Linked DNA regions of Homo sapiens: regions 1, 2, 3 and 5 are each linked to region 4. The links are contacts of gene promoters, found by promoter capture Hi-C in human tissues and cell types (Jung and others, 2019). All regions are on one chromosome and are shown on one strand. The core of a region is centred on a gene start or on the middle of the fragment in contact, and the rest is flanking DNA. Distances in the headings are between cores, read along the strand shown.

The links. The method cuts DNA at HindIII sites, captures the fragments that hold promoters and counts their contacts. A contact is called where the count stands out against the background at its distance.
Region 1: the fragment with the promoter of TLE2 here is called in contact with the fragment with the promoter of ATCAY in region 4 in 2 of the 25 tissues and cell types used here (aorta and small bowel).
Region 2: a fragment that was not itself captured here is called in contact with the fragment with the promoter of ATCAY in region 4 in 2 of the 25 tissues and cell types used here (bladder and heart left ventricle).
Region 3: a fragment that was not itself captured here is called in contact with the fragment with the promoter of ATCAY in region 4 in 1 of the 25 tissues and cell types used here (psoas muscle).
Region 5: the fragment with the promoter of PLIN5 here is called in contact with the fragment with the promoter of ATCAY in region 4 in 1 of the 25 tissues and cell types used here (small bowel).

The regions. Positions count from the first base shown.
Region 1 is chr19:3,025,482-3,031,494 of GRCh38, forward strand. TLE2 (TLE family member 2, transcriptional corepressor) reads right to left here and starts at 3,799. Exons shown (of 20, transcript NM_003260.5): 1 at 3,400-3,799; 2 at 3,225-3,322; 3 at 2,838-2,901; 4 at 2,348-2,392. The coding sequence starts at 3,423. The HindIII fragment of the contact is 30,131 bases long and covers 768-6,013 here.
Region 2 is chr19:3,328,769-3,334,413 of GRCh38, forward strand. No RefSeq gene overlaps it. Among named protein-coding and RNA genes, the nearest start is that of NFIC, 35 kb to the right of the region's middle. The HindIII fragment of the contact is 6,741 bases long and covers 1-5,645 here.
Region 3 is chr19:3,273,887-3,279,647 of GRCh38, forward strand. It overlaps CELF5 (CUGBP Elav-like family member 5), which reads left to right. Exons shown (of 13, transcript NM_021938.4): 3 at 1-37; 4 at 1,970-2,098; 5 at 4,145-4,224. Among named protein-coding and RNA genes, the nearest start is that of CELF5, 52 kb to the left of the region's middle. RefSeq lists silencers at 1,757-1,886, 2,117-2,416. The HindIII fragment of the contact is 8,579 bases long and covers 1-5,761 here.
Region 4 is chr19:3,876,694-3,882,432 of GRCh38, forward strand. ATCAY (ATCAY kinesin light chain interacting caytaxin) reads left to right here and starts at 3,992. Exons shown (of 13, transcript NM_033064.5): 1 at 3,992-4,315. RefSeq lists silencers at 258-552, 315-515 and an enhancer at 3,667-4,197. The HindIII fragment of the contact is 15,458 bases long and covers 1-5,739 here.
Region 5 is chr19:4,533,974-4,539,410 of GRCh38, forward strand. PLIN5 (perilipin 5) reads right to left here and starts at 1,251. Exons shown (of 8, transcript NM_001013706.3): 1 at 1,192-1,251; 2 at 42-122. The coding sequence starts at 101. LRG1 (leucine rich alpha-2-glycoprotein 1) reads right to left here. Exons shown (of 2, transcript NM_052972.3): 2 at 2,429-4,978. The coding sequence ends at 3,967. RefSeq lists an enhancer at 402-957. The HindIII fragment of the contact is 58,476 bases long and covers 1-5,437 here.

The DNA.
Region 1 (6,013 bases), core at 2,549-5,048, 850 kb before region 4:
CCCCGGCTTGGCCCACGTCTGTCCCAGGCAAGGCCCCTTTCTTGGTCTCCTCCGCTTCCCAGGACTGATCTACCAGCTGGGGATGCCTCCAGGTGGAGATCTCAGCACGCCACACTCAAGGGAAGGATTTCATCTGGAGAGGGTCTGGGCCCAGGTGCCCCAAAGAGGCTGAGCAGACGAGAAGGCGTGTGGGTGGGGAAGGGGGCGGGCATACAATGGCCACGGACTTTGCCTCTGCCTGAGTTACAGGTGTGCTGTGTGTCTGGCGAAGTCTGTGTCTCCTATTCCCACCAGGAGGGTGGAACTGGGATCCCAGGGTGTCCCGCACCCCATAAAGGGGGGTCTATTGCGTGGACCCATGGGACCACGCCATGCTTCAGCAGACAAGCCCCCTCCTGCCCACATCAGAACCAACAGAACCCCCACACATGCAGGAAAGCATGCCAGGGTGGGCAACCCCAGGCACCCCACACTCCCAGCCCACCCCCTTCTCCTTCCCAGCCACCGGGAAGTCCCAATACAAGGTTCTGCTCATTGATTCTAATATTCTGATAGAATCTAGGAGCCCATGAAGCTCAGAAGTTTGGGACCCCTCTCATCCCTTTAGAAACCACTGGCCAGTCTCAGGATCTCAGGATTAAGCATGGACCACTAAAGTCAATTTTAGAATCTTTGGGTCTATTGGCCGGGCAAGGTGGCTCACTCCTGTAATCCCAGCACTTTGGGAGGCCGAGGCAGGTGGATCACCTGAGGTCAGGAGTTCAAGACCAGCCTGGCCAACATGGAGAAACCCCGTCTCTACTAAAAATACAAAATATTAGCCAGGCATGGTAGCAGGCGCCTGTAATCCCAGCTCCTCGGGAGGCTGAGGCAGGAGAGGCGCTTGCACTCAGGAGGCAGAGGTTGCAGTGAGCCAAGATCAGGTCATTGCACTCCAGCCTGGGCAACAAGAGTGAAACTTTGTCTCAAAATTTAAAAAAAAAAAAAAAAAAAAAAAATCTTTAGGTCTATCTCAGAACCTTGAGATCAGAAGTTCGGGAATAGCCTCAGAACCTTTTAACACATCTCAGCACATAGATATGATAATCGCAGAACCCTGAGGTCTATCTCTGAACCCTGAGGTCAATCTCAGAACCCTGAGGTCTATCTCTGAACCCTGTCTATCTCAGAACCCTGAGGTCTATCTCTGAACCCTGATGTCTATCTCAGAACCCTGAGGTCTATCTCTGAACCTTGAGATCACAAGTTCAGGAACACCTCAGAACCTTTTAACACATCTCAGTACACAGATAGGACAATCTCAGAACCCTGAGGTTTATCTCTGACCCTTGAGGTCTATCTCTGAACCCTGAGGTCTATCTCAGAACCTTGAGGTCTATCTCAGAACTCTGAGGTCTATCTCTGACCCTTGAGGTCTATCTCTGAACCCTGAGGTCTATCTCAGGACCTTGAGGTCTATCTCAGAACCCTGAGGTCAATTTCAGAAATTTGAGGTCTATCTCAGAACCCTGAGGTCAATCTCAGAGCCCTGAGGTCTATCTCAGAACCTTGAGGTCTATCTCAGAAAACTGAGGTCAATCTCAGAACCGTGAGGTCTATCTCAGAACACTGAGGTCAATCTCAGAACCCTGAGGTCTATCTCTGAACCTTGAGGTCAATCTCAGAACCCTGAGGTCTATTTCAGAACCCTGAAGTCTGTCTCAGAACCTTGGATCACACTGAGAAGCTCCAGAAGAGGCTCAGAGCCTTACGACACTGGAGTCAATCTCAAAGCCCTGAAGACAGCCACAGAGTTTTGAGGTCTATTTTGGAGTAGTGGGGTCACAGTCTGAACCATGGCATCAAATTCAGGGCCTGGAGAACAATCTTGGAACCTTCCAGCCAATCACACTGAGACCAATCTCAGAAGCTTCAAAGCAGCAACAGAACCTGGGGTCCATCTCAAAACTTCAGACTTTCTGGGTTGAAAGGGACCTCTAAGAGTGGCCATCCAGCTCCCTCCTAGGACAGAAGTCACTTCCACAGCCTCCCTGGCCTGGCTGCCCTGCCTCTGCTATGTGCCCTCCTTGATGGGGATGCCTGGTGGCCCCTGCCCACTGCCTGCATCTCTGCTGGACGCTCCAACTGCTAGATACTGTCTTCAGAAGGTGGGACTCATTTTCCTTCCACGAGGCTGAAATCTGTCTTCCTGGTCCCAGATGGGCCCTCTGTGACCTCTGCGGAGATTTCAGGATGAGACCCGTGTTCCCTAGGTCTGCTCTGGCCCCGGCTGCCCACTCTGGGTCCTTCTCAGGGCTTCCAGACCCCCACCCTCCCTCCTGAACACGCGTAACCCCAACCCAGTTACCTGCTTATGCATTTCAATGTTGAGCCCGTACGACATCTCATAATACTGCAAAGGAAAAACCAAGTAAGAACGTCTAGGGTGGAGATGGGTGCCCTCCTCCAGATAGGTGATGCCAGGGTCTTCCAAGAGTCCCCAGGTTCAGGGGAATCACAGCAGGAAGCAGAGCCCCCCCCAGCTCCACGGGGTCCCAGAGGAGGAAGCGGGGGCTCTGCCTGGAAGGGCCCCCTCTACTCTCCCCAGAGAGGCAGGGCAGGTAGGAAGTGTCCAGAGGCCCTGGCCCGACAGAGACTCCCATCAGGCGAGGGGTCCTCCCTGTCTCCCCATTCCCAGAGCTGGGAGGACCCTCCTAGAGAGCCTGAAATCCCAACCTGCCCAATGTACAGACGGGGAAGACGAGGTTCGGAGTGGGGCAGGGACCTACCCCAGAGTCCACCGTGACTCAAAGCCCTGCCCGCCTCTCCCCTCACCCTGGCATCATAAGTGCCCTCACCATGACATAATGTCGCTGCATTTCCGTCTTCTCGCTGGCCAGCTTCTCACATTCTAGCTTGAGGCTGAGAAGAAGAGAGAGGGCAAGGGGCTCCCACCCGCCCCATGTGGGCCGGCTTCCAAAGTGAGAGGCTGGATCTCCCCCTCCCGACTTCCTTACAGACCTCCCCCCACCTCCTGTCCCAGTCCCTCCCCGCCCCTTCCTGGGCTCCAAATGCCCCAGCTCTGACTGTCCCCAGACCCCTCTGCACCTGCGCTTCCACCTGGAGGCCTTTGTCGCGCCCCCCCTCCAACCGGGAGCCCCTCCTCCCCGCCCTATACCCCGGAGGCCTCGCCCCGCCCCGGCGCCCAGGTGAACTCCCGCGGCCCCTGGGGCGGCCCCCCTCACCTGTGGTATTGAGCCTGAAGAAACTGGAATTCTTCTTTGATGCGGTCGCAGATCTCCAAGATCGAGAACTTGAAGGGCTGGCCGGACTGGAGCGGGGTCTGGGGGGGGTGTGGGGGAAACGTCAGGGTCTGAGTTCCCGGACACTGGGGGCCCCCTCCCCGCAGTCCGCACTCACCGGGTGCCTTCCCTGGGGGTACATCCTGCCGATCCGAAAAGCCCCCCAGGCGCCACCAGAGCTTGATGATATGGAGGCGGCAAGAGTGGGGGAGGCTGAAGTGGGGTGGTGGGGAGGCTGCCCGAAGAAAGAGGGAGGAGGGAGAAGCGGCGCGGGGCAAGGGACCCTGGAGTCCCTGGCGCGCCCCCAAGCGCGCGCGCCCGGGGTCGTGGGAGCCCCTCCCCGGGTTGGGGTGCGCGGGGCGAGCGGGGCGGGCAGGGGCAGCGGCCGGGGCGGGAGCGCGGCGAGGGCGGCCGCGGCAGCCGGCGCAGAAGGTCGGGCGCGCCGCGGCCGGGTTTCGGTGGCGGCGGCGCGGGCGGCGGGCCCCGCGCGGAGCCGCCTCCCTCCGGCGGGGCTCGGCCGGGAGCCGCGGGCTGAGCCGCCTTAAGGTGGCGCCGCCGCCCCCACGCGCCCGCGGCCCGCCCCGCGCCCACCCCCGCGCACCGCCCCTCCCCGCGCCCGCGCCCCCCCCGGCCCCCGGGCACCCGCCCCCTTCCTTCAGTCCCTGGGCCGTTGGGGAAACTGAGGCCGGGTGGGGAGGCGCCCAGTGCCTTAAAACAGGGTCCCCACCCCCTCCCGGAGGGGCGGGAGAAGAAAAACCAGTGAAGAAATTCACACCGTGTTACCCACCGTGGGAGCGGGGGGGGGGGCTTGCGGGGAGCGGGGACCAGTCTGGAGTCGGAAATGGCTTTTCTGAGCAAGTGACATTGGGTTGAGATTGAAGGGTCAGCAGGACGCAGCCTTGCCAAGCGCTGGCAGGGAACCCTGCCAGAAAGGGAATCTCACAGCAAACACTGCTTCCCAGATCATGCCGGGCCCTCGCCCTCTGGGGGCCTCAGTAGTCTCTGCAAAAGGTCAGGGGTGGTGCGCTATCTTTAGGGTTTAATTTTTTGCAGAGATAGGGTCTCCCTGTGTTGCCCAGGCTGGAGTACAGTGGGGCAATCATGGCTCACTGCAGCCTCGAACTCCTGGGCTCAAGCGATCCTTCCCCCTCAGCTTCTCCAGTAGCTGGGACTACAGGTGTGCACCACCACGCCCAGCTAATTTTTTAATTTTTTGCAGAGATGGAGTAGGGGGGCGTCTCACTATGTTGCCCAGGCTGGTCTTGAACTCCTGGACTCAAGCCTCTCTCTTCGGCCTTCCAAAGTGCTGGGATTACGGGCGGGAGCCACCGCACTGGGCACTGCACTTAAATGAGATAGTGCATGAACGCTGTCAGCCTCTCCCTACACAGAGCAAACTTCCACAGATGGGAATTGTGTTCCTACTGCCATCACCAGTGGACTGGGCTGTCTCCCCTCTCAGACTGGGTTTCTTGAAGGCAGGAGCCGTGTCCCACTCAGAACTGGAAGAACCACAGCTCTGCCATCAGACTCAAGTCTCTCCCACGGCAAAGGCTCCAGCCCCGACCAGAGACCACAGACATCCAGCCAGCATCCTTCAGGCCCACCCGGGGAGTGGGAAGTTCTTATTCTCTTTGGAGAAACCTCAGGAGAGGTTTGTGAAGTCAATCAACAAACGTGTACTAAATGCATACTGTGGACCACACACTGCTGTAGACACTGGGGCACAGCTGGGAACAAAACAGAGAAAAATCCATGCCCCTTGATGACACTTGGACTTGTGTCCTTAGGTGATCGAGTACCTAATGGTACCTAAGGGTTAGGGTTACAAAAACCCATTTTGTACCCTTACAAAAGGGCACAAGAGCCCTTATCAATGGGCCAGGGGTGGTGGGTCATGCCTGTAGCTCCAGCACTTTGGGAAGCTGAGGAGGGAGGATCGCTTGAGCCCAGGAGTTCAAGACCAGTGTGGACAACACCGCGACAATACAAAAAAACATTTTTGTGTTTTTTGTATCTCTACAAAAAATACAAAAATAATTAGCCAGGCATGGTGATGCACACCTGTGGTCCCGGCTACTTGGGGGGCTGAGGCGGGAGATACCTGAGCCCCAGAAGGTCAAGGCTGCACTGAGTTGAGATCACATCACTGCACTCCAGCCTGGGTGACAGAGCAGGACCTTGTCTCAAAAAAAAAAAAAAAAAGCCCTTATCAAATTTAAAGCCATCGTTTTCCAGCCCACAGATATTTACAGAGCACCTATGACGTGTCAGGCATCCTTCCAGGCACAGGGATTGTAAGGGTGGATAAGGGAGACAGATCCCTGCCCTCTCTGAGTTTGTGGGATGTGAGTGACAGGCTAGGCAGGTTCACAGCTTGGTAATTATGGGACTATTTGTACAGACAGAGGAAGAGTTTAGAGGGCAGTGATAGAGATGAACAAAAGCAAACCTGCTTATGTGGGGTGTCTGGGAGAGGACCCTTGGGGGAGGGTAGCCTTGGAGATGAGACCTGAACGATGAGGTTGGGCAGCTCTGGGAAGGGAGGAAAAGAGACACAGCCTGGGATAAAGATACAATTGTGTGTGTGTGTGTGTGTGTGTGTGTGTGTGTGTGTGTGTGTGTAGTACTCACTAGCTCCCTATTGCCCTCAAAATAAATCCAAACTCATCTCTCTTCCCACAAGGCTCTTCACAAAACTCTTCCCCTTTTCCCCTTCACCATCTCTTTAT
Region 2 (5,645 bases), core at 1,307-3,806, 550 kb before region 4:
TGTTTTTGTAGGTTGAATATCAGCAAATTTTTTCTTGTAAAAGGCCGTATCGTAAATATTTTAGGCTTTGTGGACCAGGCAGTCCCCATTGCAGCTACTCACCTCTGTCCCTGTAGTCAATAGGCAGCCACAGACAATATGTAAGTGAGTGGGTGTGGGTGTGTATACCAATAAAACTTTATTTATAAAAATAAGTGATGGGCTGTGTGTTAGTCAGGGTTCTCAAACAGAACCAATGGGGAGTGTTTGTGTGTGTGAGAGACAGAGAGACAGAGAGAGAGTGATTTTAAGGAATTGTGGAGTGCAGTGGCTCACGCCTATAATCCCAGCACTTTGGGAGGCTGGGGCAGGAGGATCTCTTGAGCCCAAGAGTTTGAGACCACCCTGGGCAGCATGGTATCCTCATCTCTAAAAACAAACAAACAAACAAATTAATAAATAAATAAAATACATTTGCCAGGTGTGGTGGTACACACCTGTAGTCCCAGCTAGTTGGGAAGCTGAGGCAGAGTTGAACCCAGGAACTCAAGGCTGCAGTGAGCTGTGATCACACCACTGCACTCAAGCCTGGGTGACAGCACAAGATCCCGTCTAAAAAAAAAAAAAGAAAGAAAAGAAAAGAAAAAGAAAAAAAATTGATTTGCTTGATATGGGGGCTAGCCAGTCTAAAATTTATAGAACAGGGCAGCAGGCTAGACATTCAGGTAAGAGTCAATGTTGCAGGCCGGGCGCGGTGGCCCACGCCTGTAATCCCAGCACTTTGGGAGGCCAAGGCGGGCAGATCACGAGGTCAGGAGTTCAAGACCAGCCTGGTCAACATGGCGAAACCCTGTCTCTACTAAAAATACAAAAATTAACCGGGCAGCCAAGGCACAAGAATTGTTTGAAACCCAGGAGGCAGAGGTTGCAGTGAGCCGAGATTGCACCACTGAACTCCACCTTGGGCAACAGAATGAGTCCCCGTCTCCAAAAAAAAAAGAAAACCAAAAACAAAAACAAAAAAAAAAACAGAAATAGAGTCAGTGTTGCAGTGTTGGGTCCAAAAACTGTAGGGCAGTCCCCACAGTCTGGAAACGAGGACTTTTTTTTTTTCTTTTTTTTTTTTTATGGAGTCTCGCTGTGTTACCCAGCCTGGAGTGCAGTGGCGCGATCTCTGCTCACTGCAAGCTCCACCTCCCGGGTTCAAGCGATTCTCCAGCTTAGCCTCCCGAGTAGCTGGGACTACAGGCACACGCCGCCACGCCCGGCTAATTTTTTTGTATTTCAGGAAAGACGGGGTTTCACTGTGTTGCCCAGGCTGGTCTCGAACTCCTGAGCTCAGGCAATCATCTGCCTCGGCTTCCCAAAGTGCTGGGATTACAGGCATGAGCCACCGTGCCTGAAGAAATGAGGATTTTTATGTCCCAGTCTTGAGGCAGAATTCCTTCTTCTCTGGGAAAACCCGAATTTTGCTCTTACATCCTTCAACTGATTGGACGAGGCCCACTCACATTACAGAGGGTCGTTTCCTTCACTTAAAGGCAGCTGACTCTAGACATTCAGCACATCTGCAGAATACCTTCAGAGCAAAACATGCAGATGCCTGTTGGAGCAAACAACCGGGCAGCATGGTCTCGCCCCATGGCCCCATGCAATCAAACATCACAGTCTGGATTTGATCCGGGGCCATGGTTTGACAGCTCCAGTGTTGTTCACGTGTTCCTGGGCTTAGGATGGGACCATGTCCTGATAAACTCTTCATAAGTTAAAAATATCATAAGTCGGCCGGGTGCGGTGGCTCATGCCTGTAATCTCAGCACTCTGGGAGGCTTAGACGGGTGGATCACCTGAGCTCAGGAGTTCGAGACCATCCCAATCAACATGGTGAAACCCTGCCTCTACTAAAATACAAAAAATTAGCCGGGCGTGGTGGTGTGTGCCTATAGTCCCAGCTACTCAGGAGGCTGAAGTGGGAGAATCACTTGAACCTGGGAGGCAGAGGTTACAGTGAGCCGAGATTGTGCCACTGCACTCCAGCCCAGGTGACAGAGCGAGACTCCATCTCAAAAAAATAAAATCATAACTCAAAAATGCATTTAAGCTGGGTGCAGTGGCTCATACCTATATTCCCAGCATTTTGGGAAGCTGAGGTGGGAGGATCACTTGAGGCCAGGAGTTCAAGAGCAACCTGAATAACATCATAAAACCCCATCTTGGCCGGGCACAGTGGCTCATGTCTGTAATTGCAGCACTTTGGGAGGCCAAGGCAGGTGAATCACCTGAGGTCAGGAGTTTGAGACCAGCCTGGCCAACATGATGAAACCCCGACTCTACTAAAAATACAAAAATTAGCCAGGTGTGGTGGTGCACACCTGTTATCCTGGCTACTCAGGAGGCTGAAGCAGGAGAATCACTTGAACCCCAGAGGCAGAAGCTGCAGTGAGCCAGGATCACCCTGCTGCACTCCAGCCTGGGCAACTGAGTGAGACTCTATCTTTAAAAAAAAGAAAAAGAAAAAAACGTATGTTGGAATCATCTGTCTTCGTTTCCTGGGCCTTCCTTAACAAAGTAGCACAGCTTGAGTGGCTCAAACAACAGAAATGTATTTCCTGACGGTTCTGGGGGCTGGAAGTTCAAATTCAAGGTGTTGGCAGGGTTGATTCCTCCTGAGGGCTGGCAGGGAGAGTCTGTCCCACCCTTCTCTGTCCTTGACCTGTAAGATGACGCCTTCATGTACACGTGACGGTGTCCCTAAGTGCATGTCTGTGTCCAAATTTTCCCCCTTTTTATAAGGACACCAATCAGTTTGGATTAGGATCTGGACTAATGGCCTCATTTTTTTTCTTTTTTTTTTAGACGGGGTCTCGCTCTGTCACCCAGGCTGGAGTGCAGTGGCGTGATCTCGGCTCACTACAAGCTCTGCCTCCCGGGTTCACACCATTCTCCTGCCTCAGCCTCCCGAGTAGCTGGGACTACAGGCGCCCGCCTCCATGCCCGGCTAATTTTTTGTATTTTTAGTAGAGACGGGGTTTCACCGTGTTAGCCAGGATGGTCTCGATCTCCTGACCTCGTGATCCACCCGCCTCGGCCGCCCAAAGTGCTGGGATTACAGGCGTGAGCCATCGTGCCTGGCCTCTAATGGCCTCATTTTATTTTGATTACCTCTGTAAAGACCCTGCATCCTAATAAAGTCACCTTCTGAGGTCCTGGGGTTAGAACTTCAACATATGAATTTGGGGGGCAGCACAATTCAATGCATAATCACCCTGTTGTCCATGTAGGTTTTCTTTTTTTTCATTCCTGTTTCCACCCATTCTAGTGTGGATGTTCATTTCAATTAGTTCCAGTTCTGGGCTCTTACAAATAAAACCGATATGAACATTTCCATGCATGTCTTTCAGTATATACATGTGCCCTTCCTTCCTTCCTTCCCTCCTTCCTTCTTTCCTTCCCGTCCTTCCTTCTTTCCTTCTTTCCTTCCTTGCTTCCTACCTTCTTTCCTTCCTTCCTTCCCTCCTTCTTTCCTTCCTTGCTTCCTTCCTCCTTTCCTTCCTTCCTTCTTTCCTTCCTTCCTTCCCTCCTTCCTTCCTTCCTTTTTTCCTTCCTTGCTTCCTTCCTCCTTTCCTTCCTTCCTTCTTTCCTTCCTTCCTTCCCTCCTTCCTTCCCTTCCTTCCCTCCTTCCTTCCTTTCCTTCCTTCCCTCCCTCCTTCCTTCCCTCCTTCCTTCCTTTCCTTCCTTCCTTCCCTCCTTCCTTCCTTCCCTCCTTCCTTCCTTCCCTCCGTCCCTCCTTCCTTCCTTCCCTCCTTCCTTCCTTCCCTCCCTCCTTCCTTCCCTCCTTCCTTCCCTCCTTCCTTCCCTCCTTCCTTCCTTCCCTCCATCCTTCCTTCCCTACTTCCTTCCTTTCCTTCCTTCCTTCCCTCCTTCCTTCCTTCCCTCCGTCCCTCCTTCCTTCCTTCCCTCCTTCCTTCCTTCCCTCCTTCCTTCCCTTCCTTCCCTCCTTCCTTCCTTCCCTCCGTCCCTCCTTCCTTCCTTCCCTCCTTCCTTCCTTCCCTCCTTCCTTCCCTTCCTTCCCTTCCTTCCTTCCTTTCTTCTTTCCTTCCTTTCCTTCCTTCCTTCTTTCGTTCCTTCCTTCTTTTCTTCCTTCCTTTCCTTCCTTCCTTCCTTCCTTCCATCTGTCCTTTCTTCCTCCCTTCCTCCCTTCTTCCCTCCCTCCCTCCCTCCTTCCTTCCTTCTTTCCTTCCTTTTTTCTTTTTAATCAGATGGAGTCTTGGTCTGTCTCCACCCTGGAGTGCAATGGCACAATCTCAGCTCGCTGCAACCTCCGCCTCCCGGATTTAAGCCATTCTCCTGCCTCAACCTCCCAAGTAGCTGGGACTACAGGCACATGCCCAGCTAATTTTTGTATTTTTAATAGAGATGGTGTTTCACCTTGTTGGCCAGGCTGGTCTGGAACGCTGGACCTCAAGTGATCCTCCCACCTTGGCCTGCCAAAGTGCTGGGATTACAGGTGTGAACCATCATGCCAGCTGGCTTGCTTTCTTTTCTTTCTCTTTCTCTTTCTTTCTTTTTTCTTTTTCTTTCTTTCTCTTTTTTTCTCTCCTTCTCTCCCTTTCTTCCCTCCCTCTCTCCTTCCTTCCTTCCTCCCTTCCTTCCTTCTCTCTCTCTGTCTCTTTCTTCTTTTTGAAATAGGGTCTTGCTCTGTTGTCCAGACTGGGGTACAGTGGCATGACCATGGTTCATTGTAGCCTCAAACCCTGGGGTTCAAGTGATCCTCCCTCCTCAGCCTCCCCTCAGCCTTCCAAGTAGCTGAGACCACAGGCATGTGCCACCATGCCCAGCTAATTTTTTTTCTTTTTTTTGTAGAGTCGGGGTCTCACTCGTTATGTTGCCCGGGCTGCTCTGGGACCCCTGGGCTCAAGGAGTACCCCTCATTGGGCTCAGCCTCCGAAAGTGCTAGGATTATAGGCGTGAGCCACTGTACCCAGCCAAATGTCCCCTTTTCATTAGGACACTGGTTTTTGGACCAGGGTCCCACCCTACTCGGGGATGATGTCATCTTAACTAACTCCTTCTGCAAAGACATTACTTCCAAATAAGGTCACCTTCTGAGGTCCTGGGTGTTAGGACTTCACCATATGAATTTAGGGAGGCGCAGTCCAACTCATAACCACCCTGTTGTCAATGTAGGGGGTTCTTTTTCTTTTTCTTTCTTTTTTTTTTTGTTTTTGAGATGGATTCTCGCTCTGTCGCCCAGGCTGGAGGGCAGTGGCGTGATCTCAGCTCACTGCAACCTCTGCCCACCCGGTTCAAGCAATTCTCCTGCCTCAGCCTCCTGAGTAGCTGGGATTACAGGCGCCCACCACCACGCCCGGCTAATTTTTGTATTTTTAGTAGAGATGGGGTTTCATCATGTTGGCCAGGCTGGTCTCAAACTCCTGACCTTGTGATCCGCCCACCTCGGCCTCCCAAAGTGCTGGTATTACGGGCGTGAACCCAGCCGGGGGGTTATTTTTCATTGCATCCATTCTCGTGTGGATCTTCATTAGGTTGGTTCCAATCTGGGGCTTTTATGAGTAAAGTGACTATGAACATTCCCATGCATATCTTTTGCTATATAGATGTACCCTTCCTTCTTTTTTTTTTTTTTTTTTTTTTTTTTTTGAGAC
Region 3 (5,761 bases), core at 1,775-4,274, 600 kb before region 4:
CAGGTGAAGCCTGCGGACAGTGAAAGCCGCGGAGGTAGTTGTCATCTCTCCGTGGCTGCCAGGCTGGGGGTTGGCGGAGGAATGGGAGAAGAAGGAAAATCTCTTCCTTCCTCTCTCCTGCAAAAGGGGCAGTGGCCGAGGCCTGTGGATCTGGAACTGGCCTCCCTGCCCCAAAGCATGCAGTAGTCGCATGCCTGCTCACACACCTTTTGGTGGGGGGAGAAGCAGGTTCCAGAGAGCAGAAGGGGCTATGTCCATAGGCCCCAAGGGAGGATGGGGGGTCTAGCCAGGTCCAGCTGCCTTCTCCTGAGTTTGAAATACTCCACTCCCTTCAGGGTGCAATAACTGGGGGGCTTCAGACACAGACAATGGGGGCCTGAAGGGCTGTGGATTGCTCTCTGGGGTCTCCGTGTGGAAATGTGTGTGTTTATGTGTGCATGCTTAAATGTGTGTGTATATGACTGTGCACACCTGGCATGCCTGTGTGCAGATGTGTGTGAGTACGTGCACATGTGCATTTGTGTTTCTGCAGCTGGTGCACATAAGCGCACATGTGTGGTATGCAGTGGGGATGCCTTCCTGCCTGTGTGCATGTGCGTGTGCCCAGCCCGCGCATGGGTGTGTGTGTTTGCACATGTGTGCCTGACTGTTGGAGGCTGGGCATGTGGGCAGACATGCAGGCTGGGGCCAGTGTTGTCTGTGTGGGGCTGGACCTTGGTGTCAGGGTGTGCCCATGGTGGGGGCATACTCAGCTGTTCCCATGGGACCCAAATCTAGTCATTCTTGGAAATTTGTATATTTCCTCTCCATCTCAAGTGGAGACTGAAGGAGGGCAGCCAGATTTGGTTGAGTGGAGGCATGGAGCAGGAGTGTTAGGATACCTAGGTATATGTAGGAGTCCGGTAAAGGCCCTCTGGGATGGGAGCCCCTTTCACACTCTCCACCCTGGCTGCCAGCGTGGGACAGGGAGTAGCGAGGTGGGGTCTGTATGTCTCCATTTTTGTCTCTATTTCTCTGTCTCTCTCTCCATCTCCCTCTGTATCTCCTTCTCCTTTTTCTCTTCTCTTGTCTCTTCATCCCTCTTATTCTCTCTGTCTCTCACAGTCTCTTTCGCGCGCACTCTCTCTCTGATCTGTCTCTCTCTCTCCCTGATTCTCAGTCTCTCTGCTGGTTTCTCTCTCTCCCTCCCACCCCCATGAGTGACAGCTGCCGAGAGCGGTTTCCATAGTAACCCAGCTCACCGTCCCTAGGAGATGAAGCCACCACGTTCCCCATTACCAGGGAGCATGCAGTTACCCAAGGGGGCAGAGCTCACACAGGAGAGGCTGGCCCAGCTCCGGCCTCAGACCAGGTTCCAGCCCAGCCCCACCCAGCAGGGGGTCCAGCCTGCCAAGGCCCCTGGTCCACTGAGCACGTGAACCCTCACTCCACTCCACAGATGGTGACTGCCTGGCCCCTCTTGATCCCGACAAAGTTGGGCAGGGGCCTCTGCTGGGCACCGTGAAAGTGCGGGGACCATCAGTGCCCACCTCCGCCTGGCAGGTCCGGGGAGCAGACAGAAAGACAGACAGACAGACAGACAGGGACCCAGGCCCGGCGAGGCAGCTCCTAGCCCTAGTACTCGGTGCGGGCTCTCTGAGTGCACCAGAGGGAAAGGTCATCTCCGCCTGGAGGGGGAGCAGTGGAGCAGAGACCCCAAAAGACTGCAGGGAGGGCATTCCAGGCGGGGGCGCCACCTGGGCAAAGGCCGGGAGATGGGAGCGTGCAGGGCCCGTGGGAGGGTGGAGAGATCCGGGGCAGGGAAAGGGCGCGGCTGGGTCCTCCCTCGCACGCGCAGAACCGGAGCCGGCAGGGCCCGGGCGCCGCGTCTTCCTGCCCTGCCGCCTCCACTCTGCTGGAGGGAGGGAGGAATCCCGGAGGCCCTCCCGGAGGCCGGGGACTCGGCTGAGGTGGGTGTCGCCGCCCACAGGGGACCGGAAGCTGTTCGTGGGGATGCTGAACAAGCAGCAGTCGGAGGAGGACGTGCTGCGGCTGTTCCAGCCCTTCGGGGTCATTGACGAGTGCACCGTGCTCCGGGGGCCTGACGGCAGCAGCAAAGGTGACTGGCGGGGGCCGGGGCGGGACTGCGAGAGGGGCCGGGCTAGCTCTGGGGGCGGGGCCTGTGGGGAGGGTGGGGCCTGCAGCATGGGGAGGAGCTGGCTCTGGGGTGGGACCCTGGGGAGGGGCGGGGCTTCTCCAGGGGTGGAGTCTGTGGGTGAGGCTGCAGGGGCGGGGCCTTGGAGAGGGGCGGAATTGCAGGGGCGGGGCCTGGGGAGGGGATGGGGCTGCAGGGTGGGGAGGAGCTGCCTCTGAGGGCGGGGCCTGTGGGGCAGGGCCCTGGGGAGGGGTGGGGCTTCTCCAAAGGTGGGCCCTTGGGGAGAGGTGTGGCTGCAGGGGTGGGGAGGAGCTGGCTCTGAGGATGTAGCCCTGGAGAGGCCCGAGGCTTCTCCAGAGCTGAAGTCTGTGGGTGAGGCTGCAAGGGTGGGGTCTTGGGTAGGGGAGGTACTGCAGGGAGGGGTGAAATACGTAGAGTTAGGAGGGACTGGCTCCAGGGGGAGAGGCCCTGGGAAGGGTCGGGGCTGAGCATATAGGGGGTGGGGCTGGCCAGGTGGGGCGGGGCCAGGCCAATAGGAGGCTGGGGCTGGCTGGGAGAAGCTGGTTCACAGGGGTTGGGTGGAGCAGAGACTGGTCCCGCTTGATCCTACCTGCATGCTCTCTCTGCATGCTGGCTGTGGGGACGGGCCCTGAAGAGGGGCGGGGCTGCGGTGGGGTGGGCGGAGATGCAGAGGCGTGGCCTTGGGGAAGGGCAAGGCTTCTCCAGGGGCTGCTTATGGATGGGGATGCAGGGGCAGTACCTTGGGATGAGGCGGTGTCTGGTGGGAGGCGGGGGGGCTTCTCCAGGTGCTGCCTGTGAGTAGGGATGCAGGGGCGTGGCTTGTGATGGGGCGGGGTCTGGGGAGGGGCGGGGCTTCTCCACGGACAGAGTTACCTGTGCCCTGTGGTCTCAGATTCCTCCACCTGACTATTCGTAAAACTGTTTCCTCCTGGTTCTGTCTATGTGATTTGTCCATATGACTGACTGGTGGTCTCTGGTTGTGTCTGTCTGTCTATCTTCCTGCCTGAGAGTCCAAATGACGGTGTCTGGCGGTCTCTGTCCACAGAGCTCATCATGTGGGACCGACTCCACTCTGGTCTTTCTTACCTTACTAGAACTGAATGTGTCTGACGGTTTCAGACCATTACCTGGTTCTTCCTTTTTAAAATTGAGGGCTGGGCGTGGTGGCTCACGCCTGTAATCCCAGCACTTTGGGAGGCTGAGGCAGGTGGATCACGAGATCAGGAGTTCAAGACCAGCCTGGCCAAGATGGTGAAACCCGTCTCTACAAAAAATACAAAAATTAGCTGGGCGTGGTGGCAGGCGCCTGTAATCCCAACTACTCGGGAGGTTGAGGAAGAGCATTGCTTGAACCCGGGAGGCAGATGTTGCAGTGAGCCGAGATCACGCCACTGCACTCTAGCCTGGGTGACGGAGCAAGACTCTGACTCAAAAAAAGAAAAAAATTGAGATGTCTTCCACATCCTACCAAATTCACCCTTTAAAAATGTACAATGAAGTGCTTTTTTTTTCTATTCATAAAACCGTGCAACCATCACCACTATGTAATTCCAGAACATTCCACCCCCTCCCTCCACAATATGGCTGGCCCTTCCATAGTACTCTACCAGTCTGGAGCCAGGTGCAGTGGCCTCTGTATGTTCTATGGACTTTGTCGGTGGGACTGTGTTTCCATTCACCTGTGTCTGGTGGTCTCTGTGTGTGTGGCTGTCTGTCTGCATTAGCCTGGCTGGCTGTGTGGGTGACCAGGTCTTTGTCTAACTGTGGCTGTCTGTCTGTGTGATTCTCCTCCATTCTGACCCTTGATCTGGCTGATTGTCCAGCTGTCCGTCTGAGCAAACGGCTGGCTGTCTTTCTGTTATCAGTTCTCTCTGGCTGCATGTGTCTGACACTGGCCATGTAGGTCTCTGTGTCCCCTCTCCTGTGGCCCCCGCTCAGCCAGTCCTGTGACCCCATCACCCTCTACCTCTTCTTCTTCTCTTGGAGCAGGCTGTGCTTTCGTGAAGTTCTCCTCCCACACGGAGGCGCAGGCGGCCATCCACGCCTTGCATGGGAGCCAGACCATGCCGGTGAGTTGGAGCTGCCCTTGGCCGTGGGGGTGGGGGTGGGAAAGGGGTGAGGGGGACAGGGATGAAACAGGCCATATTCCTACCGTCGCTGTCATCCGGTAGCCCCTGGCTGTCCTTCAGAGGGGGCACAGGTGGAGAAAGAGGCGCAGTCCCTGGCTGTGGTCCCTGGAGTGGGTATACACGTGTGAGTGTGTGCAGATGTGGAGGTGAGTAGGCAAGCGAAGTGTATGTGTGTGCATGGATGTATTACAAGTGTGTGCGTGTGGGTGAGTGTGCATGTCTGGGTGTGAGTGTGCCCGAGACTGCATGCATGTGTGTGTGTGAGTGCGTGTTTGAGTGTGTCATTACTAGTAGGCGAGTGTTATGTGAGTGCTGTGTGCACGAGGGGTGTGCGTAAATATGTATGGATAAGTGTGCCATTGTGTGCTAGTGTAGAGATACTAGTGCGTGTGCGTGTATGAGAGTGTACATGTGTGTTTCTATGTGTGTGAGCGTGTGTGTGAGTATGCCTGGGCCACGGGGGAGGAAGCACATGTGTGTGCATCTGCAGGTGCATTTGTGGGCAGGTTTGTGTGTGTGTGTGTGTGTGTTTGTGTGTGTGCATGACTGTGAGTGTGTCAGTATTGTGGGTGATTGTGTACACGTTTGTGAGTATATGCAGGTCTGTGTGAGTATAGGTTGTGAGTGGGTGAGTGTGTATGTGTGTACATGTAAGGGTATCCTAAGGGGATGACACCTGGGTTGGATTTGCTGAGGCCAGGAGAGGCCCTGACAAAAAGAAAGGCTGGGAGGTGGCAACAGGTAGCCCAGAGGAGCCATAGAAGATGGGGCCGCAATGCGAGGCTGAGAAGCCTGGACTTTCTCCTAGGGCAGTGGGGAGCCACAGACGGTTTAGAGCAAGGGAGGAGACAGGCCAGGTCGGTTGCAAATATCCCTTTGGGGCTAATGTAGAGGATGGGCAGGGTGCAAGACTAGAGGCTGGGAGGCCAAAGAGGAGGCTAGGCCAAGGTCCAGCTGAGGTAGGAGGAGGCCTGAGCTGGGGCCAGGTGGACAGGGAGGAGGGCTGATCAGAAAACAGACATTAGGGTGAGAATGGATGGGGGGCCTGTTGACTCACTGGTTGAGGGAGGGGTGGGGATTGGGGACAGGTCCCAGAGTCTGCAGCAGTGAGAGGCTGGGGAGGACCAAGGAGGCACTGGGGACTGCCCTTCCCCCGAGGAAGGAGTCCCCAGAAGCCATTGTTCCTGCACCCACATCTCCGAATCTGCTACAAGGAAGATGGGACCTGAGAGGAACAAGCCACCTCTCTCAGCTCTTAAAACCCAGGGGAGGGGCTTAGTTCAGCACAAGGGCAAGTGTTCCCAAGCTCAGAGATGTCCCAGGACAGGGCTGGTAGGCGTCTGGAGGAGTGAGTTCTCTATCGGAGGAGGCATGTCAGCGAAGACAGGGAGGCAACAGGGTGCATCCTGTGGGAGCCAGCTCACCAGGGAGGAGCTGGTCGAAGGGGAAGATATTTTCCTTCTTGAGCCCCAGAGTC
Region 4 (5,739 bases), core at 2,742-5,241:
AAAAATTAAATTAAATTAAAATTTTTCCATTTTAAAATTAAAATAAAACGAAATGAAAACAGACAGAGGCCAGCTGCAGTGGCTCACACCTGTGATCACAGCACTTTGGGAGGCCAAGGTAAGCGGATCACCTGAGGTCAGGAGTTTGAGACCAGCCTGGCCAACATGGTGAAACCCCGTCTCTACTAAAAATACAAAAATTAGCCTGGCGTGGTGGTGGGTGCCTGTAATCCCAGCTACTCGGGAGGCTGAGGCAGAAAAATCGCCTGAACCTGGGAGGTAGAGGTTGCAGTGAGCCGAGATCGCACCAGCCTGGGTGACAGAGCAAGCCTCTGTCTCAAAGGGAAAAAAAAACAGGGAACCAAGCTTAGGTCACACGCTGTGGCTCCTCGGTGGTGGCTGTAGCACCATGGACAGCTCCCAGGCTTTGGTGGACTGGGGAGAAGCTGTTGCTCTTTAAATGCCAGTCTGGGCAGGCCTGTCTGTCCAGAATATGCCTTCCTCCCTCTTTTTTATTCATCTAACTCCACTCACTCCTCAGGGGTCTCACTCATGCAGTCGCCACCTCTGTGCCCCACCAGGAAACCTCCCCAACGGTCCCCCAACCTGCACCACTCCAAAGATGTCTCTAGATCAGCCCAGACTCTGTTGTCCACCTGTTTCTCTCAACTGAATGGGAATTATTTATTTTTTTTTTTTTTGAGATGGAGTCTCACTCTGTCACCCCACCTGGAATGCAGTGGCTCAATCTGGGCTCACTGCAACCTCCACCTCCCGGGTTCAAGCGATTCTCCTGCCTCAGTCTCCCGAGTAGCTGGAATTACAGGCGCCCACCGCCACGTCTGACCAATTTTTGTATTTTTAGTAGAGGCGGGGTTTCACCATGTTGTCCAGGCTGGTCTCAAACCCCCAACCTCAAGTTATCTGCCCGCCTCAGCCTCCCAAAGTGCTGAGATTACAGGTGTGAGCGGCCTCCCAAAGTGCTGGGATTACATGCCTGGCCTCAACTGAATGGTCATTCTAAGAGAATTCCCAATCCTGCACACAAAAACAGCATAAATTAACTGAATTAGGGAAGCCACGCCTCTGCCAGCCGTGAGCTGGGAAGAAGCAGATACCTCAGAGGCAGGGAGCGCAGGCGGGTGATGATGAGAGGGGCCACAGCCGCAGCCCCACGCAGGGGAGCCCACCACTAACCCTGCACCCCCACCCCTGCACAAAAGAGCTGGTGGGCACTAGCCATATCGCCTTGCAACCTTCCTCGGATGCAGAATCCACTCCTTCAGGCATCCTCTTCCTCCAATGCTCTGAAGGCCTGGGGAGCCTGAGAGATGCCCGCTGCACCCAGGCAGGGCTCGCCTTTGTTTGCCAGTAATGGGAATTACTCATATCTTGTGCCCAGTGCCCAGCACAGGGACTCATCGAATCCACCCCTCAGTTAACACAAGTGTCTCTTACAAGACCTCCATTTTCTCCAGCCAGGAGATGGGAAGTCCCAACCTTGTGCTAAAGTCTCTGGGGCCTCTGCTTCCCCATCAGGGCTTTCTGCCTCTGCTGTGGGCAGGTTACCTTTATGCCTCGGAAGAGTGCAGACCTCCATGCAGCGGGTGAGGCTGCCAGCCTAGGTGGGGTGTCATTGAATGTCATGAAGGGAGCCAGCCTTCATGCACTCTGCCTGCGTCTCCTGAACAGCTTTGGACCAGGAGTTGCTACCTTGTGCGGAGAACGTGTGGTGCATAAGAACAACCGAGCCTCTGCTCTTCGAAAATGTATATTCTGGCCAGGTGCGGTGGCTCACGCCTGTAATCCCAACACTTTGGGAGGCCAAGGTGGGCAGGTTGCCTGAGGTCAGGAGTTTAAGACCAGCCTGGCCAACATGGTGAAACCCCGTTTCTACCAAAAATAAAAAAAATAGCTGGGTGTGGTGGTGCATGCCTGTAGTCCCAGATGCTTGGGAGGCTGAGGCATGAGAATCGCTTGAACCTGAGAGGAGGAGGAGGTTGCGGTGAGCTGAGATCACACCACTGCACTCCAGCCTGGGAAACAGAGCAAGTCTCTGTCTCAAAACAAAACAAAACAAAACAAAACCCAGTATATTCTAATAAGGAGGAGCAGAGAATCAACAACAACAACAAAAAAGTGTAAATAATTTCAATTAATAGTAAGTGCTGTGGGTCAGGCACGGTGGCTCACACCTATAATCCCAACATTTTTCGAGGCTGAGATGAGAGGCTCACTTGAGCCCAAGAATTCAAGACCAGCCTGGGCAATAGAGAGATACCCTATTTCTACAAAAATTACACAGATTAGCAGGGCGTGGTGGTAGGAGCCTGTAGTCTCAACCACTGGAGAGAAAGAGGTGTAAGGATCACCTGAGCCCGGGAGTTCAAGACTGCAGCGAGCTGTGATTGTGCCATTGCACTCCAGCCTGGATGACAGGGAAAACTCCTGTTTCTTAAAAAAATAAGTAAATAAAATAAACATTAAAAACAGCAATAGCAAGAAATACATATAGGCCGAGCACAGTGATTCGCACCTCTAATCCCAGCACTTTGGGAGGCCAAGGTGGGCGGATCACCTGAAGTCAGGAGTTCGAGACCAGCCTGGCCAACATGTTGAAACCCCGCCTCTACTAAAAATACAAAAAAAAAATTAGCCAGGTGTGGTGGTGTGTGCCTGTAATCCCAGCTACTTGGGAGGCTGAGGGAGGAGAACCACTTGAACCTGGGAGTCGGAGGTTGCAGTGAGCCAAGATCGCACCACTGTACTCCAGCCTGGCAACAGAGCGAGACTCCACCTAAAAAAAAAAAAAAAAGAAAGAAAGAAAGAAAGAAAGAAAGAAAGAAAGAAAGAAAGAAAGAAAGAAAGAAAGAGAAAGAAACACATAGGGAGCTTTTCTTGTGCCCCAGCACTGTGTTTAGTGCTGTCTATGCATTATCTCATAATGTGGAAAAGCCATAGCGGCTCCATTTCACAGATGAGAAAAACTGAGGCCCGCAGGTGAGATCACTCATGCCCACTGGTCTGCCAGCTGGGGAGTGGCTGGGCTAGAGTTCAAACCCACTTCCAGTCCGACTGCACGGCCTGCACTCTCCACCCTACCATCTTCCACAGTCTCCTTGAATTCCTCCAGGGCGAGGCCACGCCAGCGCACAACTGCAGGGGGCGCCGTTCCCACAGCAGCCCTGCAAAGTGAGTGTGCCTGAGAAACTTCCGCCTCCCCTGCACCCAGCCCTGTTTAGGGCACGAGGCTGAATCAATGGTAAGTGACCATCTAATGGACCCACAACACGGTGACCTGGGGACAGTCATTTCTTTCTTTTTTTTTTTTTTTCTTTGAGACAGAGTCTCCCTCTGCCGCCCAGGCTGCAGTGCAGTGGCGCCATCTCGGCTCACTGCAACCTCCGCCTCCCAGGTTCAAGCGATTCTCCTGCCTCAGCCTCCCGAGTAGCTGGGATTACAGGCGCACGCCACCACGCCTGGCTAATTTTTGTATTTTCAGTAGAAACGGGGTTTCACCATGTTGGCCAGGCTGGTATCGAACTCCTGACTTCAGGTGATCCTCCCTCCTCGGCCTCCGAAAGTGCTGGGATTACAGGCGTGAGCCATGGCATCCGACCTGGGGACAGTCATTTCTTTGCCTGCACAGACTTTTTGGGGGATGCCACCCCTCACCCCTGCTCCCTTTGCAAGGAGAAGTGCCAAGAAGACCTTTCCCAACTCCCCCACCCCCCATTCTCTAAGGAATGAGGCCATCTTGCCATTTATTTATTTATTTGTCCGTTGTTTTGTTTTTAAATCTCTGATGCGCCATCAGAAAATTATTTCTGCCTCTGCCCCTGGCGTGGCTTTCGGAGATGCTTGTCTGTCAGCCAATGGGGAGGATCGGATTCTGGCAGGGGGCTGTGCTTTTCCGTCAGGCCGCCACCCCCCACCCCCTCCTCCCTGCACACAAAAGCAGCATAAATTAACCGTCTTCGGGAAGCCGAGCCTCTGCCAGCCCTGAGCTGGGAAGAAGCAGCTACCTCGGAGGCAGGGCGCGCAGGCGGGCGGCGATGAGAGGGGGCGCAGCCGCAGCCCCGCGCTGGGGAGCCCACCGCTAACCCTGCACCCCACCCACCCCTGCACAAAAGAGCTGGCGGGCGCTGGCCACGTCGCCCTGGGTGACCTTCCTCGGATGCAGAATCCGCCCCTGCGAGCATCCTCTTCCTCCTAGGCTCTGAAGGCCCGGGGAGCGTGAGCGATGCCCAGCTGCACCCGGGCAGGGCTCGCCTTTGTTTGCCAGTAAGGAGGAGAGGCTGTCTCAGCTGCAGAGGTGAGTGCGCGCATCTCCCCTTCTCCCAGGATAAACCGTCTCCCTGGAAGGTTTATCCGGCAGCCTTTGCCGCCTCTAAATCCCTTTCCAGCAGATGGGGCGGGTGGGAGCAGAGAGCCACGGTCTTGTGACTCCGTGAAGGCCCTCACATCCCTGTTCCCGGTACCAGGGAAAACCGTTCCCTGAGCTGCGCCCAGCAACACAGTTTACCTTCCGCGCGCACCGTTCCCCTCTAAGTGCACCATTTTCAGGACACGCTGAGAGCTCGGGCGGATGAAAACCTCAGCTTCTCTCTGGGACGCTGAAATAGACCCATCCTAGCCCTATGTATTTCCTATTTATAACGCTAGGAAGGCCACCAGCCGACGATTTCGGGAAAAAAAAAAAAAAAAAATCTAAGTGTGTCGATAAAGGCTGTCCTGTGGGGTGGGGAGGAAGGGGGTGGTTTATGGTTTAAGACACAGATGCCTCCTCCTTATTGGAACTCGTATGTGATTTGTTAATAATCAGACATCAGGGCTCAAATGAGCGCTTCACTCCCGTTCCTTGATGTCACTGTCTTCTTTTGGCCGTCCCCAAATGCGAAGCCAGGATCTGAGTGCAGGAGTGTCCGGGGCCCACTGAGGACCCACCCCACCCCATCCTTAGAAGACTGTGGAGTCAACGCCTGTGGCTGCAGCTGGCAGGGGGTGGGGGTCGGGGGCGGGGCTGGTGGGAGTGTTCCTGGGGGCTGAGGTCACACCCAGCTCAGTATAAGGAAGGGAGAGGCGAAGACCCCTTCCTCCGGAGAGCAAATGCGTTTCTACTGCCGAGGAGAACTTACCCTCGCGGGAAGGGCCTGGCTGGCTGCTGCCACCGCCCCCCCCCCGACCCCATAGCATCCAGGAGGGATTTTTTTTTTTTCCATGCTGCGTGTTACTGTCCCTCCTCCAAGCATGAATGACGACATTGAGGACAGAGAATCGAGTGAGAAACGCTCACCCTGTACGGGGGAGGGTCTAGTTTTAGCCGTCCCCTCCCCCCACTTCCTCATCTGGCTGAGGCTGCCTCTGGGTCCTTCCTTGCTAAGCCACAGTCCCCTGTCCCCGATGCAAACCCGATATCTATGCTGGGGGGCTGCAGGTAACCTACTCCACAGAGAGGCAGCCTGGATGCCATGAGAGTTGGGGGCCTTAGATGCTTCATGTATTTGGTTTTTTTGAGACAGGGTCTTGCTATCTTGCCCGGGCTGGTCTTAACCTCCTGTGCTCAGGCGATCCTCGCAAAGTGCTGGGATTACACGTGTGAGCCACTGCCCCCAGCCAGATGCTTTATCTTTTATTTTATTTTTTGAAGTAGGGTCTCTGTTGCTCAGGCTGGAAAGCAGTGGCATGATCATAGCTCACTGCAGTCTCGACCTCCTGGTCTCAAGCGATCCTCCAACT
Region 5 (5,437 bases), core at 1-2,500, 650 kb after region 4:
AATACCTTCTGTCCCTGCTCCATGGGAGGGGCAGCCCTCACCTGCTGGTCCTGCTCCCACACACTGGATCTGGGGATCTGAGCCGCCTCTTCTTCAGACATCGTGCTGCAAACAGGGTCACCCTGCGGGGCAGGATTGAGTAAGGGGAGCACCTGCCCAGGCATCAGATCCTGTCAAATTGGGCTCTGTGACTTGAGCAACTCTCAAACCTCTTGGGGCCTCAGTTTCTTCATCTGCATAATGGGGCATTCTGTGGAGCTCAGACAATGCATGTCCAGAGCTCTGTACACAGAGGGTGTCCAATAATGAGCCTCTGGCAAGGTAGGGTTGCCGGAGTGACTCGAAGCATGGTCTCTGAGGTGAGAAAGACCTGGGTTCAAATGCTACCATTAATTGCGGTGTTATTTTTATTATTTTTTTAAAGACAGAATCTCTCTCGCCCAGGCTGGAGAGCAGTGGCGCCATCCCAGCTCACTGCAATTTCCGCCTCCCAGGTTCAAGTGATTCTCCTGCTTCAGCCTCCCAGTTAGCTGGGATTACCCACGTGCCACCATGCTCGGCTAATTTTTGTATTTTTAGTAGAAACCGGGTTTCGCCATGTTGCCCAGGCTGGTCTCAAACTCCTGGGCTCAAGTGATCTGCCCACCTCGGCCTCCCAAAGTGCTGGGATTACAGGCATGAGACACTGCACCTGGCCAGCTGTGTGATTTTTGGCAAGCACCTTCACCTCTCTGGGCTGCTTCCTGTTTTGTAAGATGTGGGAGGTCCCTGCTACCCCTGCGGCCCCTGCCTGGGCCCAGAACTGCCCAAGCACCCTAGACGGCTGGAGGTGGTAGCTGCTGGGTCCCAGTCCACTCACAGCTCATTTGACAGACAGGGCAACTGAGGTACGCAGCAGGTCCATGCTGGTCCCAAGGTCACGCAGCCAGCTAGAGTTACAGGGGGGGAGCTCGACCTCGGGCCTCAGACCTGCCGCCTGCGATCCCTCCGGTTGCCACCCCGCGTCCTCTGAGGCCTGGTCCTCGCCCAACTGGGTCCTGAGCTGGGGCCAACCGGGCCAAGGGTCCCAGCCACCTGCTCTGGCCGGTCATACCCGTCCCACGCCGCCGGACCTTCGCCCAACCACCCTATCTGGAGCTCCTCTCCTAAGCCCGGGGGGGCGCTCCCGGACGCCGCCCTCAGGGCACTCACCTGGGCGCGAGCGGCTTCAGACACCAGCTGTCTCCGCCGACCCCAGGCTCGAGTCTCCACACCCCCGCCGGTCCCGCCCGCCCTTCTTATAGCTGCTCGCGCAGTGGGGGCCTCCGGAACTGACCAATGGGGAGAGGCCGTGCGGGGGCGTGCCCAGGGGGCGTGGCTCCAGGCTTCCCTCGCCCTCTCCTTGAGCTGGCCCAGTGCCCTACGGTTGCCATAGTAATTCGGGAGCGCTAGATTCAAAAGATTGAGCTATTATACGTTCCCGGACCAAGTTTGGCCACCTGTCATCCTCACTGCTGTTGCCATAGAGACAGTCCATGCGATCACAGCCCCCATAGCCCTGCTGAGTGACCTTGGCCAACTCGCTGATGACTTTTCTTATTAATTATTATTATTTATCGATTTTTGAGACTGGGTCTTGCTCGGTTGCCCAGGGCTAGAGTGCAGTGGTGTGATCATAGCTCACTGCAGCCTTGCCCTCCCAGGCTGAGGTGATCCTCCCGCCTCAGTCTCCTAAGTAGCTGGGACCACAGGCACACACCACCACCCCCAGCTAACTTTTTAAACTTTTTGTAGAGACGAGATGTCCCTGTGTTGACCAGGCTTGTCTTCAACCCCTGAGCCCCAAGTGATCCTTCCACCTCAGCCTTCCAAATTGCTGGGATTACAGGTGTGAGCCATTGCACCCAGCCTCTTTTTATTTCTTAATCTGCCCCTTAACTAAGCCAGAAGCCAGGCCTTCCCTTTCCCTAGGATCCCCATTTCACAGATGAGCAAGCTGAGGCTCAGAGATCATAAAACACTTGCCCCGCATACCACAGCAAGTGAGGGATCCTATTCCTTTTTTTTCTTTTTTTTTTTTTGAGACAGAGTCTGACTCTGTCGCCCAGGCTGGAGTGCAGTGGCGCGATCTTGACACACTGCAACCTCCGCCCCCTGGGTTCAAGTGATTCTCCTGCCTCGGCCTCCGGAGTAGCTGGGATTACAGGCGCCTGCCACCACACCTAGCTAATTTTTGTATTTTTAGTAGAGACGGGGTGTCACCATATTCGTCAGGCTGGTCTTGGACTCCTGACCTCGTGATTTGCCTGCCTTGGCCTCCCAAAGTACTAGGATTACAGGCATGAGCCACCGTGCCCGGCCAGGGATCCTATTCAAACCCAGCCCTGCTGGACCTCAGAACCCTGCCTTTTCATTGCCTTGCCTGGAATGACCACAGATGTAGGCATGGTCTTTTTATTTTTATTTTTATTTTTGAGACACAGTTTCACTCTGTCGCCCAGCCTGGAGTGCAGTGGCGTGATCTTGGCTCACTGCAACCTCCGCCTCCCAGGTTCAAGTGATTCTCCTGCCTGACCCTCCCAAGTAGCTGGTATTACAGGCACGTGCCACTGTGCCTGGCTAATTTTTGTATTTTTAGTAGAGACAGGGTTTTGCCATGTTGGCCAGTCTGGTCTCGAACTCCTGACCTCCGGTGATCTGCCTGCCTCAGCCTCCCAAAGTGTTTGGATTACAGGCATGAGCCACGGCGCCAGGCTGCATGGTCATTTTTTAGGGAGCTGGGAAAACTGGACATGCCCCCAAGCCCCAGGGTCTTCCAAATCCGATTGCAGCCCCCACATGGCCAATGCTGTATCAGCAGGTGGGCCCGGGACCCTGCTCATCCCTTCAGCCCCATCCTGCCCCTGCAACCTTGCCCGGGGGCAGGTGCCCCCTTCGATGATCTCAGGTCAGCATGACAAATCGTTTGGAGACCTGGGCAATCTGGTTTAACTTAAACCTTCTCCTAGGACACAAGCCCTGGCAGAAATCCACTGGTAAAATGACACCCGGGCAACAGTCAAGGTTTTATTTCCAGTTAGGTCCCAGGATGGGGGAAGGGAGAGGAGAAGTCACAGGCCATTGATCCCAACTGTCATCCCCTAGGGAGACCATATCCCACACCCCAGGGCCTGGGCCATGCCTCTTTTCCTCCTTCACCCTGGAGTCCTGGGAAGTTGATTTGAGAAGATGCTAGGAACACAATGAAAGCCAATTCATCCGATCCAGTTTTCAAGGGTTATTTATTAAACCCCTTGGTTCTGACCCCAAGCTAAGTGGGACTCAGCATCAGACCCTGCACTCAGAGAGCCCCCTGACTTGGGGAAGACAGAGTCAGAGAAAGGCAGCCCCAGTGTGGCCAGGGCTCAGCTGGAAGGAAGGACAAGGGGCTGGGAGAACCCAGAGTTCAAGAGATCTGGGAAACAGGGAACGGCATTCCAGACGGAGGGCACACCTTGGGCATGGGTAAGGAAAGCCCATCGTGTGTTCTAGGAAGCATGGATGGATGAAACGGGGTCCCAGCCGCTATGGACAGCCCCGAGTTTCACCTGTAAAAGGCAGGATTATTTGTTTTTAATTTTAATTTTAATTTTTTTGAGACAGTCTTGCTCTGTCGCCCAGGCTAGAGTGCAGTGGCACGATCTTGGCTCACCGCAAGCTCCGCCTCCCAAGTTCACGCCATTCTCCTGCCTCAGCCTCCCGAGTTGCTGGGACTACAGGTGCCCACCACCACGCCTGGCTAATTTTTTATATTTTTAGTAGAGACAGGGTTTCACCATGTTAGCCAAGATGGTCTCGATCTCCTGACCTCGTGATCCGCCCACCTGGGCCTCCCAAAGTGCTGGGATTACAGGCGTGAGCCCCCGCACCCGGCCAAAGGCAGGATTATTTGTTAAGCGGGTTGCAGTGTTCTACCAGACCCCCCACCCTCAACCCAAGCCCCTGGTCTCACTGGGACTTGGCCACTGCCAGGAGCGTCTGGCCCTTCACGGCTTCAGGCCCAGCACAGCGCGTGTCATTCTGGGAAAACATCTTGTCTTTTTGGGCCTGAAGCCAACGATAGAGGTCGCTCAGGTTCTGGTCACAGATCCAGGGGTTGCCGGAGATGTCGAAGCCATCCCGCATGTCCCAGTTTGGCTGCCCTAGGGATGCCCAGAGCCCCTCGGGCACGCTGGCCAGTGAGTTATTGGAGAGGTCCAGCATGTCCAGCTGCCGCAGGCCCTGGAAGGCACCGGCTGCCACCCTGGCCAGCTTGTTGCCGTTCAGGAAGAGGTAGCGCAGGTCCGGCTGCGGCAAGAGGAGATCTTTTCCCAGTACTTGCAATTTGTTGCCTTCTAGATGTAGCCGTTCTAATTGCAGCGGACCCCTCAGGAGGTCAGGTGGCAAGGTCTCCAACTGGTTCTCCCCAAGGTCAAGGGTGCGCAGGAGGGTGAAGTTGGCCAGCAGCCCGGGGGGCAGTTTCCGGAGGCGGTTCCCAGACAGGTCCAGATGCCCCAGAGCTTTCAGGCCGTGTAGCCACGAGACCTCCAGGACCTCCAGCTGGTTTTCTTTCAATACCAGGGTGTCCAGGGTGGCTGAGGCCTGGAAGAGGCCCGGGGGCAGCCCGGTCAGGGCGTTTCGGGTTAGATCCAGCACCCTCAGCTGCGGCACTGGCCGCAGGAATTCGGGCGAGAGGCTTTCCAGCCCATTGCTGGAGAGGTGCAATTCTTGGAGCTTAGAGGCGCCCTGGAGGAGGTTGGCTGGCAGGTGGGTCAGGTTGAAGAATTCCACGGCCAGGTGCACGGTGTCGGCTGGCAGGTAGCCGGGGATTTCGGCAGGTGGTTGACAGGAGATGGAGCTGCCATGGTCTGAGCGGAACACCTGGCAGTCTTTGGGGCTCAGGGTGACCCCCCAGGCTGAGGCTGCCAACAGCAGCAGCAGGAACAGAGTTCTAGAAACATGGGGTTGAATGCCCCCTGGGCTGCAGGCAGTAACAGAAGATGCTTACTAAACCACAGTGAAAATACACTCAGCTAGGTGAAAATACACCAGCAAATCCGCCCACTTCTTCCCATCTCTGCGGCTACCAGCCTGGACTATGCTACCTCATCTCTCACCTGTACTAGGGCAGTTGCTTCCTCCTCCTCTTCCAGCTTCTACCCTCACCCCCGACAGCTGCCAGAAGTGGCCCCTGTTCCAGGGAGAATTATAATTCTAGGAAAGTTGAGTTTCTGAGTGTAACTCCCGCATAATATGAATACACTTCCCCATCACCAGCCTAGCCCCCATGAGCTGTTAATTATTCACAGTCCAACTTGCTAGTTTCTTCTGATCTGGCTTATTTTCTGGGTCAGTCCTTGTCTCCCTGGCTCTGTGTTTTGATGTGAACTCCTATTCATCCTTCAAAGCCCCAGCTCCAATGCCCTCTTTTCCATGAAGA